Regions from separate parts of the Homo sapiens genome. Here all the other regions are linked to region 1. Evidence: promoter capture Hi-C in 16 types of primary human blood cells and fetal thymus (Javierre and others, 2016). All regions are on one chromosome and are shown on one strand. The core of a region is centred on a gene start or on the middle of the fragment in contact, and the rest is flanking DNA. Distances in the headings are between cores, read along the strand shown. Region 1 holds the start of RXRG (retinoid X receptor gamma). Region 2 has its middle 16 kb from the start of MIR3658. Region 3 overlaps UCK2 (uridine-cytidine kinase 2). Region 4 overlaps UCK2 (uridine-cytidine kinase 2).

Region 1 (3,281 bases), core at 500-2,999:
TTGAGGAGGCTTTTCACATCTGGAGCCCAACCATAGACTAGAGATCAAATGCCCAGGTCACAGCATTGGCCACCGCTCTCACTCTGTCATCAGACTGGCCCAAAGAACTTGAACATCACCTCGGGAACATTTCCATGGCCCTCACCCCAAGTCCAAGTACAACCTACGTTTGCTATTACACACATCATGCAGTATTATAATGTGCCTGTGTAACAAGCCTGCCCCAGTCCCAAAGGGCAGAGACTGTGTCTCATTCATATTTGTATTCCCAGTGCCCAACACCATGCCTGCCTCATAAAAACTACCCTGAATGAATGTGCAAACTCCCAGGTCTAACACCTCCTGGTGACAGAGATCACTTCTACCTTGCAGTGTGTCACCATGCCTCCCAGGGGGTTCTGCCCAGCCAAGTTAGGCAAGCTTTAGTCCCAAGCCTTCAGATGAATTGGTCCACGGAGGAAGTCTGGAGAGCAGGGACTTTTCAATTTTCAAAACCTTATAAGAATTTCTGCTGTCTTGCCTGCCAGAATCTTTCTTTGGCTCCCAGCAACATAAGCTGCATGCCTCCAACTGACAAGCGACAGGCCAGTTGGTCAGCTGTTGCTTCCATTTACTCAGAGCTGGGCGGCTGTACTGTTTCTGTCACTAAATCAAGGGATCCTTGGGACGGATGTGCTTGGGCGTTAAGGCAGCCTGAGGACCTAGTCTCCGGAAGCTTCTGTGAAGTGTGACTGGGCTGCCCTGCCTGGCACGGTGACTTGAATCTTCAGTTTGCCAATTCTCTAAGAGCCCCAACCCCCCATCCCCAGATCTCTACCCCCAGAGTGGAAGTGATTGCAGCAACTCTTGCAGTAGAATTGGGGGCAGCAGCAGGGGAGGAGAGAAGAGGCTATTAGCAAATCAAAGGAAAGAAAACAGGGGAAGGAAAACACAGTAGCAAATTAAAGCACTATGTTTTCTTTTTAAAAATCCAATTAAAGGGAAATCTGCTTTTGAGTAAAACAATCATGCCCTTGTTACAAAGTATCCCAGGAACCCTCAAGATAGGCAAAACCTTTTTAATCACATTTTTTCTCATTACAAGTTGGCTAATAGGAACATCATAGTAATTCCCCGTTAACTCTTCCACTTTTCACACCCGCACAAACACACTGGGTTATAACAATGCTCTTATTCTATCTTTGTCTCAGACACATTCTCAAGCATGTTGGTTTACTCTCTCCTTAGAATATCCCCGTATCCTCATTCTGATATGCAAACGTATCCTCACCTACAGACCATTCTTTCCTCCTCTCCTCTCTCATGCACGCGTGCACACACACGCTGAAACGCTATATACACACTATATATGCATATAAACATATATGTTCTCCTTTTAATTCAATACTAATCCAGTCATTCGTATTTCCCAATTTCTTCTCAGTCTCTCATACAGGTCCACGCAGTGAAGCCCAAGGGAGATACTTACCTCCATAGCCTGCGGGAAACTTCATGAAGTGAGAATAATTTCCATACATGTTTACTCGTCAGTTCATGTTCCTCTCCTGTGCAGCTTCTAAATATTACCGCCTCTCTCGGCTCCCAGGCACAGCCCGGCTTTCTTCAACTTGGGCTAACAAGAGTGGTCATCGCTTCCTAGCAGCCCGGGGAGCACAGGCTGGGCCAGCCCTCTGGGATTAGTCAGGAATCTGCCTCTAGATCGGAGAGTCCACATAGTGCGTTTGAGACGGCTGTGGCGGCAGCAGCTGGTGCCTGTCAGTAATCACGCATAATGCTGCCGCCGCCGCCGCCGCCGCCGTCACCGCTACTCTTGCCACCGCCGTCGCTGCTGCTTGAGATCCTGTTGCTAGTTTGATTAACTCAGGGTTGGGCTGCTGCGTGCGACTCTTCCAGCTCCCGGCGCGTCCCCAGAGGTCCCTACCGGGTGGCACGATCTATTATCTAGGAAGCCAATCGATGTATGACCGCCCGGTGTAGGTCAGGAGAGAGGCGGGAGACGGCAGGGGATGGAAGACTCTTTAGGTGCCTGTTCCTTGACTTACATCCACAAAAATCAATGGGATTTTATTAAAATGCATTTTCTCATTCGAACTTCTATCTGTCCAATGTACTTGGTATTTGATCTGTGAAAGGAGGAGGGGGTGGGGTTCAAGAGAGAACAGGGCCCTTTCAGAAGCACAAGATTAGAAAAGCGTGATACTCAATCTCCAGCTACGGAAAACTAAAATAGAGTAGCCCTTAAGTTGAGGTGGGCCTCTCCTGCTTGGGTGGCCGGAAGCATTTATCTGTGCTCTAACAATGGGAGTTTGACAAGTGCAGCTGGAGCCAGAGCTCACTCAGGTGGAAAACTTACAGGTAGGGAGGAGGGGTTGGCTTGATGTGGAGGTCTTTCTCTGCATTTATTTTATATACCATTGTTATCCTGCCGCCTGTTCAAAAACACCACTGGGTCCTCACTAACACAGAGCCTGTCTTGTGTGGAACTGACCCGAGATCAAAGAATCTAAGCACCCCGTTGATGTTTGGGTCTGTCATACAGTTTTCGTGACAAGTCACCGCTCAGCCTATACTTGAACACCTCCAATAATGGGGAGCTCACCACTTTCTCATTCCATTTCTAGATAGTTTTCACCACAAGAAAGTTTCTTATAGAGATAAAATCTGCTCCTTTTCCCTACAGCTTCTGCCCACAGGTGCTAGACTGCTCCCAGGGGCCACACAAGAGAAGCCTGAAAGACAAAAAAGTCTTTCACAGTGGGATCCTCTGCAAATCCTGAGATTGATCTGCTGTGCCCATAATCCCCCTTTCCCTAGGCATCTCTGGCTCTTTCAGTAATTCTATGTATCACCAAGGGTTCATGTCTATTCCCAACCTATCCTTTTTCTAATAATGTACTTCAGTTTACATAGATACCCTCACAGTGAGGAAGGGGGTTGGCCAGACTTGGATGCAATACTCCAGATATGGTCCAAACCTTTTCCTCATGGTATATGTGTTGGCACGGTGATGGGGTGCTGTCAACATACCCATTGAAGGTCCGTTTCATGGGCTGAGCTCTGTTGGGCTGGAAAAAAGATAAGAGATTTTCTCCTGATGCAGCATAAGACATAGAGAGCCAGAGAGGTAAGTCAAATCAGGGTCCCAGAGTAAAAAATCAAGATTCAAATGCTAGGAGAAGCCAAAACAAAAACGTAGAATAAAAGACCAGAGTCAGGAACAAAGTCATGATGACAAAGGAGGAGGCCAAAATGGGGAATCAAAGCAAAAGCATGTCACAAAG
Region 2 (3,281 bases), core at 476-2,975, 480 kb after region 1:
ATCAGATGTATCCCTACATATTTTATATTTTATGATGCTATTGTGAATAGTATTTTTTTAGAAGTCCAACTTAACGATTGTTTATTGCAAGCATATAAGAATACAATTGATTTTTATATATTGGTCTTTTATTCTGCAATCTTGCTAAATTCACTATTTTTAGAGTGGTGTTAGAAGACAGCAGAGAGAAAACAGTGGTTCAACCTATCCTGTTTAACCAAAAGTTGAGATTTTTTATGTTCACTTTTATCCTCTTTTTAGGGTTGAAAATTACACACATTATATTTTTCTTACTTTAGTGGCCATCTTTTAAAATTGACATGGATAGTTGACAAAATCTGAATTTAATCAGTATTTCTCTCCTCTTCCTAAACAATATGAAAGCTTTGAAAGCTTAAACTCTGACCACTCTGTCTATCTTACATGTTATTGATGTTAAGTATTATAGTTCCACCTTGCTTTTATATTCTTGACATTAGTTACGATTACTGTTTTATCCTGTCAGTGCTCATTTAGATTTTCCCAGATTATTACTAATGACTTTGTTCACTATTTTATTTTGCATTGTCAATCTTGGTTATGGATTCAGTTTTCTTCATAACACACATTTTTTTCATAATTATTTGTCAGAATTATTAGTGGGACACTCTTTGTTGGAAAATGCCTTTTTTTACCCTCATTCTTGAGTTATAATTTAGCTGTTTCTCTCAACATTTTGGATAGATTGGTCTTCTGTTTTCTGTCTTTTAAAAAGATTTCTCTTTGATGTTTTGCAATTTCTTATGATGTGTTGAAATGTGGATTTATTTTTATTTACCCTACTTAGGGCATGTGCTTCCTGAAGGCGAGTTCTATGTGTTTCATCTATTCTAGAAAATTTATAGCTATTATCTTTTCTAATGTTGCCTTCTCACTTTTCTCTCTGTTTTCTATCTTTTGATCTGTGGTTCCATGTACATAGGACCTTTTGCTCTTTCTTCTAAGTCTCTTACTCTCTTATTTTATTTTTAATCTGTTTTTTGTTTGTTTGTTTGTTTGAGACAGGGTCTCACTCTATAGCCCAGGCTGAAATGCAGTAGAGTGATCATGGCTTGCTGCAGCCTCAACCTCCTGGGCTCAAGTGATCCTCCCACCTCAGCCTCCTAAGTAGCTGGGACCACAGGCGTGAGCCGCCATGACCGGTTAATTTTTGTATTTTTTGTAGAGATGGGGTTTCACTATGTTGCCCAGGCTGGTCTCGAACTCCTGGACTCAAGCGATTTACCCATCTTGTCCTCCCAAAGTGATGGGATTATTGATATGTACCACTGTGCCCTGCCTTATTTTTAATCTTTTTATCTCTCAAGCTACATTGTAGCTAAGCTCCTTAGATCATTTCCAATTTAGTTACTCGCTCTTCACCCATGTTTAGTTTGCTGTTTAAAACTTACCAAGTTTTTAATTTCAGTGACCATATTTTTGGCTTTTAGAAAAACCATTTCATTATAGTCCAAATCTGCTTGTTGATTTTTGATTGTGTTTTATACTAATGTTTTAAATTGCTATTCTTGGCCCTTGTCTAATGTCATTTTCTTATATGCTCAGCTATGCATTAAGCAGGACTTCATTATTATTATCTTTTTTGTATTTTATGTGGAACTTGTAGGTATTTTGTAGCAGGAAGGTTTTCTGGTTATCTGAACCATGATAATGAAAAAAAAAAAAGTGTCTCATTGGTTTTTTCAAACTTTCTCCTCCAGAGAAATTCTGCTTTGTTCACAGCATCAAATGTTGCTTGGAGTTCTAAAACTTCCATTGTTCTTTGTATGTGAAGCATGCTGGGATGCCTGGGCGGTGGAGTGTTACTTCACATTAAATTGTGGGCTCCTTTACGGTCAGCAACTGTGTTTCCTGTATCTCATGTGTCCTGGCAGGGTACTTGCCACGTAGTCAGTGCCTGATAAACAGTTGGCTGATTTCCTTATTTGACTTTTGCTTTAGAGCCAGACGCCTCGCTAGCAGAGATGCACACGTTTTTTTGTTTTGTTTTTTTTTTTTTTTGAGATGCAGTCTCGCTCTGCCGCCAGGCTGGAGTGCAGTGGTGCAATCTCGGCTCGCTGCAAGCTCCGCCTCCCGGGTTCAAGCGATTCTCGTGCCTCAGCCTCCCGAGTAGCTGGGATTACAGGCGCGCACCACCACGCCCAGCTAATTTTTGTATTTTTAGTTGAGACGGGGTTTCACCATGTTCGCCAGGATGGTCTCGATCTCTTGACCTCGTGATCCACTCGCCTCGGCCTCCCAAAGTGCTGGGATTACAGGCGTGAGCCGCCGCGCCCGGCCCGAGATGCACATGTATTTTTAAAGAGTTCCATTGATAACTGAGTTTCTCCTGACCAGAAGGTGGACTGTGGCCTAGGCATGGCAGTGCCTCCTGATTGGCTTTGGAAGCTCAGCTCCATCTGTGGTCCGTTATTCTTAAAAGTGGCCACTAGAGGGTGAGAATGAGCCACAGCACAGCAAAGTCCTGTTTTAACCTTCAGAACAGCTGGAGGACGGTCAATTCAAACACACTAGAGAGCACCTATCATGTGCCAGGTACTGTGCCAAGCCCTCCCTGCCTTCCAGGACCTCATAAATGGCCAGTGGCCCCTCACATATAGACACAACTCTTGTACAAGGCAGAATGGAATGTGCACAAAGAGGTACAATCCCAACTCCTAGATCTAGGGGGTCTCAACAAGGAGGAACTGTGGGTGGCTTTCCTGTAGAACTCAGATTGGTCAGTCTGTGAGAAGGAAACTTACAGGACCTGCACCATCCACCCTCTCAGTCTCAGTCTCACCCACCTCTTCATACACCTGTTTCATGTGCATATGGCTTTACTGTTGCCTGCCAGAGACCACCCAGGCTTTGCAGTAGACTATTTGCATAACCCTGGACTAACCACTCTCTAATCTTTAATCTCTTTATTTAGGGATGATAATATCAAGTCCTTTCTACCTCATAGGATTGTGTCAGATTTAAGCAAAGTAATGAAGATCAAAGTACTTTTGAAAATTCATAAGTGCCATATATTTATGAAGCTTTAAAATAATTGTTAATATAAATTTCCCTAAAATGCCCTCAGAGTCTAGGAAGTTTGGGTGCACCATGGGCATTTACTGAATTAACTAGAATGTACACTCTTCCAGAAGAGGAGACCCACAGTAAGCCGAGGTATACCAGGCAGTTTCGGACAAATCTGAGAGCCAGGAAACAGCAGTGTCATTAAAGTGTTGGGCTGAACATTGTGCTCTGACACT
Region 3 (3,281 bases), core at 212-2,711, 450 kb after region 1:
GTGAAATGCTCCAAAATCTGAAACTTTTTGAGTGCCAGTGTGACGTTCAAAGGAAATGCTCATTGGAGCATTTCAGATTTTGGATTTTCATGTTAGGGAGGCTCATTGTAGATCCTCTCTCCCCCTGCCATATTAGGGATGCCCTAAATATAATGCAGATATTCCAAAATCTGAAAAAAATCCAAAATTCAAAAATTCTAAACACCTAAGCATTTCATATAAGGGATACTTAACCTGGATATGTAAACTTAGTGCAGCCATTGTGTTCTCTGTTAGTGTGTTCAAGTGGACTCTTGCACATACATTCACTTTATTTTTGGACAAAGCCTTCCCACACTCTCCTTGGTGTAGGGGAGTTGCCTAGAGAGTGGCTCACTATTTCACTTACCCATTGGTTCTGTTTTCTGAACTTCTCTAGGTTGCCTTCTTATGCACAATGACAATGGGCACACCATTTTCTGGCAGCTGACATTCCTCTAGACTGGTGCTTCTCTACCCTGGCTGCATGTTAGAAATATCTTGGGAGCTTCTAAATAGTGTTGAAGTTCTAGCTCCACTTCAGACTCATTAAATCAGAGCTCCTTGGGGGTAGGATCCAGGTAGGGATATTTTTATAAGCTTCCCAGATGGTTCTGATATGCATCTCAGATACACCACAATTCTAGGGCATTTCCTAATCCTAGTCCTTTTTTCCCGTCTTCCCTGCCCCGTTCTGCCACTTGCTAGCTACCCTAGCAGTGCCTGCCTTAAAACTCAGACACAAGCCTGTTGGTCCAAGCTGAGAAGGCATCAGGAAGTGTTTATGGGAAGGAGTTCCAACGGCACCCTCTTGAGCTGGCCGTTGATACTGACCTCCTTATGTTTGCACAGATGGAACTACTGTTTTAAGAGACTTTGTTTTATTTGGTTTGCCAGTGTGCTAGTCAGGGTGAGTGGAAACCTTGCAATGATGATTATTTCTCTATTTTCAGTGAATTTTGAGCAAGAGGCAGTTGGTGACATATAAGGTGGGCATAGGACAGAATCAAAAGACAAAACACAGTGAAAGCTGCAGCAAGGCAAAGCTGAGCACAAGCAAGGCCATCTGTGACAGCCCGTCGCCTAACCGTTTAGCAATGTTTCACCCTTCTTGCTTTTTGAAAAGTCATGTTGGTTGAGCTTGGTAGCTCATGCCTGTAATCCTAGCACTTTGGGAGGCTGAGGTGGGTGGGTTGCATGAGTCCAGGAGTTATAGACCAGCCTGGGCAATATGGTAAAACCCCGTTTCTACCAAAAATACAAAAATTAGCCTGGGGTGGTGGTGTGCATCTGTAGTCCTAGACACTTAGGGGGCTGAGGCGGGAGGATCGCCTGAGCCTGGGAAGTTGAGGCTGCAGTGAGTCCAAGATTGCGCCGCTGCACTCCAGCCTCCTGGGTGACAAAGTGAGACCCTGTCTCCAAAAACAAGAAAAAGAAAGAAAAGTCATGTTTACAATTAGTGCCTGCCCTAGGCTACCCAACCATGTGGGTTGGGTGGATGAGGTCATGCATATTTCTGCTTTATTGATAAGGAAGAGCAGCTCTAGGGAGCTCAGGATTGACCTGTGGCCACTTTGTTGGTTTGGGGTAGAGCCAGACCAGACAGACGTCGGGATTCTGTACTTCCTCACAAATGCTTTCTCGTCTGTATCCTCTTTCCCAAAACTTTTCTTTATTTTCCCTCCTTCCCTTCCCCTTCTGTCCTTTCCTCCCTCCTTTCAATTGCCTCAGGACTGGCGGGGAGGGGATGGAGTTGTTGAGAGAAAACTGTGAGTTTCTGTTTTTAAAGTTCAGAGTGTTAGGTTCCATAAATGCCAGGCCATGAGAGCATTCCTGGAGACGCCTTCAGAGAAAAAAAGAAATCACATCTGTTTTTGTCTGCCTTTATTCTTCATTCAACAGCAGGTTTTTTTAATTCCAAGGAGAAGGATGTCTGCCGTGTATTTCTGTTTCATGGTGAAAGCTCAGAAGTGGTCAAAGGAGACCTTTGTCCCGGCCGTGATCACCCTTGGCTCTTTGGTGGTGGTCCGAGGGCTCTGTAAGACCATATTAGCCAAGTCTTTAGCCCCCGCTTGAAGTCTGTGGGGGCAAGGAACCCAGAACCCAGCCCAGCCAGATGTTCTGGCCCTTGTTCTCTGTCCCTTGCTAGCCCCTGCCTGGCTTGGCCCATTATCTGCTCTGTGCTTTGCAGGAAGGAGGAGACAGTTACTGTCTATCCCGCAGACGTGGTGCTCTTTGAAGGGATCCTGGCCTTCTACTCCCAGGAGGTACGAGACCTGTTCCAGATGAAGCTTTTTGTGGATACAGATGCGGACACCCGGCTCTCACGCAGAGGTGCGTTCTAAAAGCCTCAGGTGGCCCTGTTGGTGGCCACCTTGAGGGCGGGGGAGCTGGGAGCCTGTGACAGGACCCCACCCGCCTGAGTCTGAAGCCCATGCCTTCCCTGAGGCAGCTGTGTGTCGCATGGTCCAGCCCGGCTGCGTCAGTCCAGCCCCAGGATATCCTGCTGCCCAGACACTTGGTAACATTTGAGAAGGGATTAGTCACTTACTGTTTGGGATAACGAAAGGCTTGTGAGGTCACAGAGACTAAATAAGACACTGACATCTGGTTTTGCCTGGAAAAGTTTGATTAAATGCTTAGTTCCTTGCAATTTGTTTATAAGACATCAAAATGAAGATGCTCTGATTTGGGGAACTAACTGTAGGACCCCCGAGGATAGGATCCCCTGTGCCTGAAGTACTGGGCAGCTCATCCTGTTAGCCTGCTTCTCTAGCCCTTTATTTTCCAGCAGGCTTTATGGAGGCATTATCACTCTTTCCAGTCAGCTCAGGAGGGAAGTCAGCTGTGCCCTCCGCAGGCCCTACTAAGTGTGGGCCTGCCTGTGCTAAGTCCCTGTGCTTGTGTGCTGAAGGCACAGCAGTGCCCCTTGGTAGAGGAGCCCAGCCTGTGAACTGAGCTCTACAGGGTATTCAGCAGAGAGTTCGCTTCCACCAGGAGAGATTGGGAGGCTTCATGGAGGAAGAAGGGTTGGGACTTGGATGTGGTGGGGTAGGGTGACGCTATAGGCAACCCATGAAGGTGCACGGCAGAGATGTACAGACAGTGGCTTGTTCCGAGAGTGGCAGGAACCTGGAGTGTACAGAGGGTTGTACGAAGAGACACTACAAAGTAGGTTGGGGTCTGGTTTTAGAGACTGAGATCTCTAGTCTGGTTCTCGGTGGGCAAGGGAGAGCCACTGTGAGGTTCTGAGCGAGGCAAGT
Region 4 (3,281 bases), core at 412-2,911, 430 kb after region 1:
TCCTTTTCTTCCATCTATAGGTTGTTAAAATGGAAGATTTGTTTTACCGAGGACATGAAAGGCATTGCAGTTGCTTGGGCATTCTAGAAGAGGGTGCTGTCCTTTGCCCTGGTGTTTTCTTAGGTGGCTGTGGCAGGAACACTAACTCTTAAGGAAATGGATGCTTTTTCTTTCCTGGTACATAATGTATGAACACTAGTGTGTTGTTTTCATTGTGTAGTGTGGTTTAATAGTATGATAATGTAGTTTTGTGCCGTTTTATAGACGTGAAGAAAATAAAACTAATGGGCATGAATTGATGAAGTTTTCAACTGAGTTACCAAAAAAAAAAAAAAAAAGCTTCCTAATGGACTTTCCTGGAAAGATTTGTCTAAATGAAAATTTGGTGGATCTTAAAGAAGAGAATAATTTTTATTGAACATATAGTTTGTGCTAGCCACTATCTTAGGCATGTAGCTTATTAACACTTATGGCCCATTTGTGGAACAGGTATGGTTACCTGCAGTTTAAAACAAGGATGCCAGTGTTCTAAGAGGTTGAGTTGCCCGAGATATCACTGGTATGTTAGAGTCAGGAATCAAGCCAGGTCCTGTGTGCCCTGCCCAGCCTGACTTTAAAGGACTATGTAGGGAAACTCTCTGAAACCACATTTTTCCTTTACTCTCACACCACAACAGTTAACACGGAAGACTTCTGTGACCGATTGTGGTGAGAGAGGGGGGATTTCCTCACACAGCAAGGCACAGACACCAGTTGAGTGTCCTCCAATTTACTTGCTACACTATTTACCTGGAGATAGTGTCAAATCCCACAGGTTGGAAACTCAAGTCTCTAAAACTGCCCCTGCCCCCTGCAGACATGCAAACCTGAGCCTCTGGAACTTCTGATTGATTGACTTCAAGTCGAGGTTCCCATAACCCCCTCTTAGGGTTTGATTAATTTGCTGGAGTGGCTCACAGAACTCAGGGAAACACTTATGTTTACTGGTTTATTATAAAGGATATTTTGCAAAGGACACAGATGAAGAGACGCACAGGGCAAGGCATGGGGAAAGAGGTGCGGAGTTTCCAACCCCTCCCTTGTGTGCCACCCTCCAGGAACCTCCAGGTGTTCAGCTATCCGGAAACTCCCTGTACCCAGCTTTCTTGGGTTTTTTGGAAACGTTCCTTCCTACAGTGCTTAGCCCTCTCAGGGGAGGGTTTGAGACCCACAATCTGAAAGGTGGGGAAAGATTAGATTCCTGCCTCGGGCCAGGTGAAAGGAAGGCAGGAAAGAGATTCTGTTTCCTGACCCAACATTATCACAAAAGACTGTAACAAGGGCTGTGGGAGTTATGGACCAGGAACCTGGTTGAAAACCATTATAAATCATAACACCACAAGGACCTATATTTTGCTTTTTAGGACATTGTAGTAGGTGGGTAGTTTTCATCCTCTTGCTTTTTAAAATCTATCTTGCCCAGAAGTTTATTGGGCATTTCTATGGAAACACAACACCTCTCTTAAATGGCAGTTTCACACATCTGCAGCCTAGTAATTGCTACTCATTTTGAAGACCCTGAAGCACACCACTGGATCTGGAAGTGACATCTTCGTCACCAAGGAAACAGTAGATTAAGTCCTGTGCTCAGTATAGTTTTACTTCTGAGTATTTAGTAAGTATGATAAATTATTAACCAGGATATTTGATTAGGTAGACATGCCTATATTCCAGATAGCAACAGTTTACCATTAGAGCAAACAGAAAACACCAGGAAAAATTCTGCAGGACAAGTTTGTAAAATGCAATGATACATCTTTATGACATATATCCTCTGTAAGGAGATAAAAACAATGTATGTACAGGAGTGTACATAAATAAAAGTTGAAGAAAGTACATCCTCTGTGATTTAAAAAAAGAAATTCAATATACCCATTAAAAAAGTGACAGGTGTATTAGTTTTCTATGGCTATAGTAACAAATTACTACAATCTTGATGACTTAAAATGACAGATTCATTCTCTTATAGTGCTGGAGGCTGTAAGACTGAAATTTAGGTGTGGGCAGTGTTGGCCTCTTCTGGAAGATCTGAAGGAGACCCATGCCTCCGTCCTGTCTCCCAGCTTCTGCTGCCATTTCTTGTATCACCCCAGTCTCTACTTTCACCTTTATATGGCTTTCCCTCATGTCTCCGTGTCTTCACCTTTTCTGTTTCTTAGAAGGACACATGTCATGGGGTTTAGGGCCCACCCTAATTCAGGATGATCTCATCTCAAGATATTTAACTTAATTACATGTGCAAAGACCTTTTTTCCAAATAAGGTCATATTTTGAGGTTGGGGGAGTTAGAATATGATCGTAGATTTTGGGGGGCAACAATGTAACTCACTTATAAATGGTCCACTGACCCCCCCAAAATTTGTCCTGTGTGCAGAATGCATTCATCTCATCCCAATTAATTATTAACACTGCTTTGTGAGGAAAAATTAAGAATTTTGAAAAGTGAGAAGCTATACCTCTGGGATAAATAAAAAGACAAATGGCAGAAGATGGATAGTCGCTAATCTTTTTTTTAGATAAACATTTTGTTTTGAGATAGTTGTAGGTTCACAAACACATAAGAAATAATACAGAGAGATCCCATATTACAAAAGACACCGGGATGTTGACGTTGATACAGTGAAGATACAGAACACTTCCATCGCTACTGCTGTTTTGCTGTTTATTACCTGCCCCGGATTTCCCGCCCCTCCACTGCTCCCTGTCCCTAACCGTGGTCCACCACTAATCGTTCCACAATTTTATACAAATATAACCATACTGTATGTAACCTTTTGGAATTGCCCTTTTTTACTCAGCACAATTCTCTGGAGATTCGTGCAGGTTGTTGTATCAGCAGTCATTCGTTTTTATTGCTGAGTAATAGTCCATTGTATGGATATACCGTAGTTTAACCATCGGCGTAATGAAGGCCATCTGGGTGGCTTCTAATTTTTGGCTCTAACAAAGCTTCTATGAACATTTGTGTATGTATTTTTGTGTGACTATGTTTTCATTTCTGTGGGATCAGTACAATTGCCTGATCATATGGTAGTTTAGTTGCATGTTTATTATCTTCTTTAATATGCTTTTTTTAAAGAGCAGTTTTAGGTTCCTAGCAAAATTGAGGAAAAGATAGAGATTTCTCTGATTCCCCTTGGCCCAACACATGCACAACCTCCCCTATTATCAACACCCCCCATCAGAGAGGTACGTTGGTCACAGTCATGAACCTACATTGTCACATCCTTATCAACAAGTTA

The links. Contacts are between HindIII fragments. The CHiCAGO score rates a contact against its expected background, and 5 or more counts as called.
Region 2: a fragment that was not itself captured here is called in contact with the fragment with the promoter of RXRG in region 1 in 7 of 17 cell types (naive CD4 T cells, activated CD4 T cells, naive CD8 T cells and 4 more); the score reaches 10.3 in naive CD4 T cells.
Region 3: a contact is called between a fragment that was not itself captured here and the fragment with the promoter of RXRG in region 1, in 4 of 17 cell types (naive CD4 T cells, activated CD4 T cells, total CD4 T cells and 1 more). The highest score is 6.5, in naive CD4 T cells.
Region 4: a contact is called between a fragment that was not itself captured here and the fragment with the promoter of RXRG in region 1, in 5 of 17 cell types (non-activated CD4 T cells, naive CD4 T cells, total CD8 T cells and 2 more). The highest score is 7.5, in non-activated CD4 T cells.

Annotation. Positions count from the first base shown.
Region 1 is chr1:165,443,377-165,446,657 of GRCh38, forward strand. It overlaps RXRG (retinoid X receptor gamma), which reads right to left and starts at 1,750. Exons shown (of 10, transcript NM_006917.5): 1 at 1,469-1,750. The coding sequence starts at 1,517. The HindIII fragment of the contact is 7,493 bases long and covers 714-3,281 here.
Region 2 is chr1:165,922,404-165,925,684 of GRCh38, forward strand. No RefSeq gene overlaps it. Among named protein-coding and RNA genes, the nearest start is that of MIR3658, 16 kb to the left of the region's middle. The HindIII fragment of the contact is 2,669 bases long and covers 392-3,060 here.
Region 3 is chr1:165,893,981-165,897,261 of GRCh38, forward strand. UCK2 (uridine-cytidine kinase 2) reads left to right here. Exons shown (of 7, transcript NM_012474.5): 4 at 2,210-2,352. Among named protein-coding and RNA genes, the nearest start is that of MIR3658, 12 kb to the right of the region's middle. The HindIII fragment of the contact is 1,691 bases long and covers 617-2,307 here.
Region 4 is chr1:165,874,718-165,877,998 of GRCh38, forward strand. All of the region lies in intron 1 of UCK2 (uridine-cytidine kinase 2), which reads left to right. Among named protein-coding and RNA genes, the nearest start is that of MIR3658, 32 kb to the right of the region's middle. The HindIII fragment of the contact is 2,649 bases long and covers 338-2,986 here.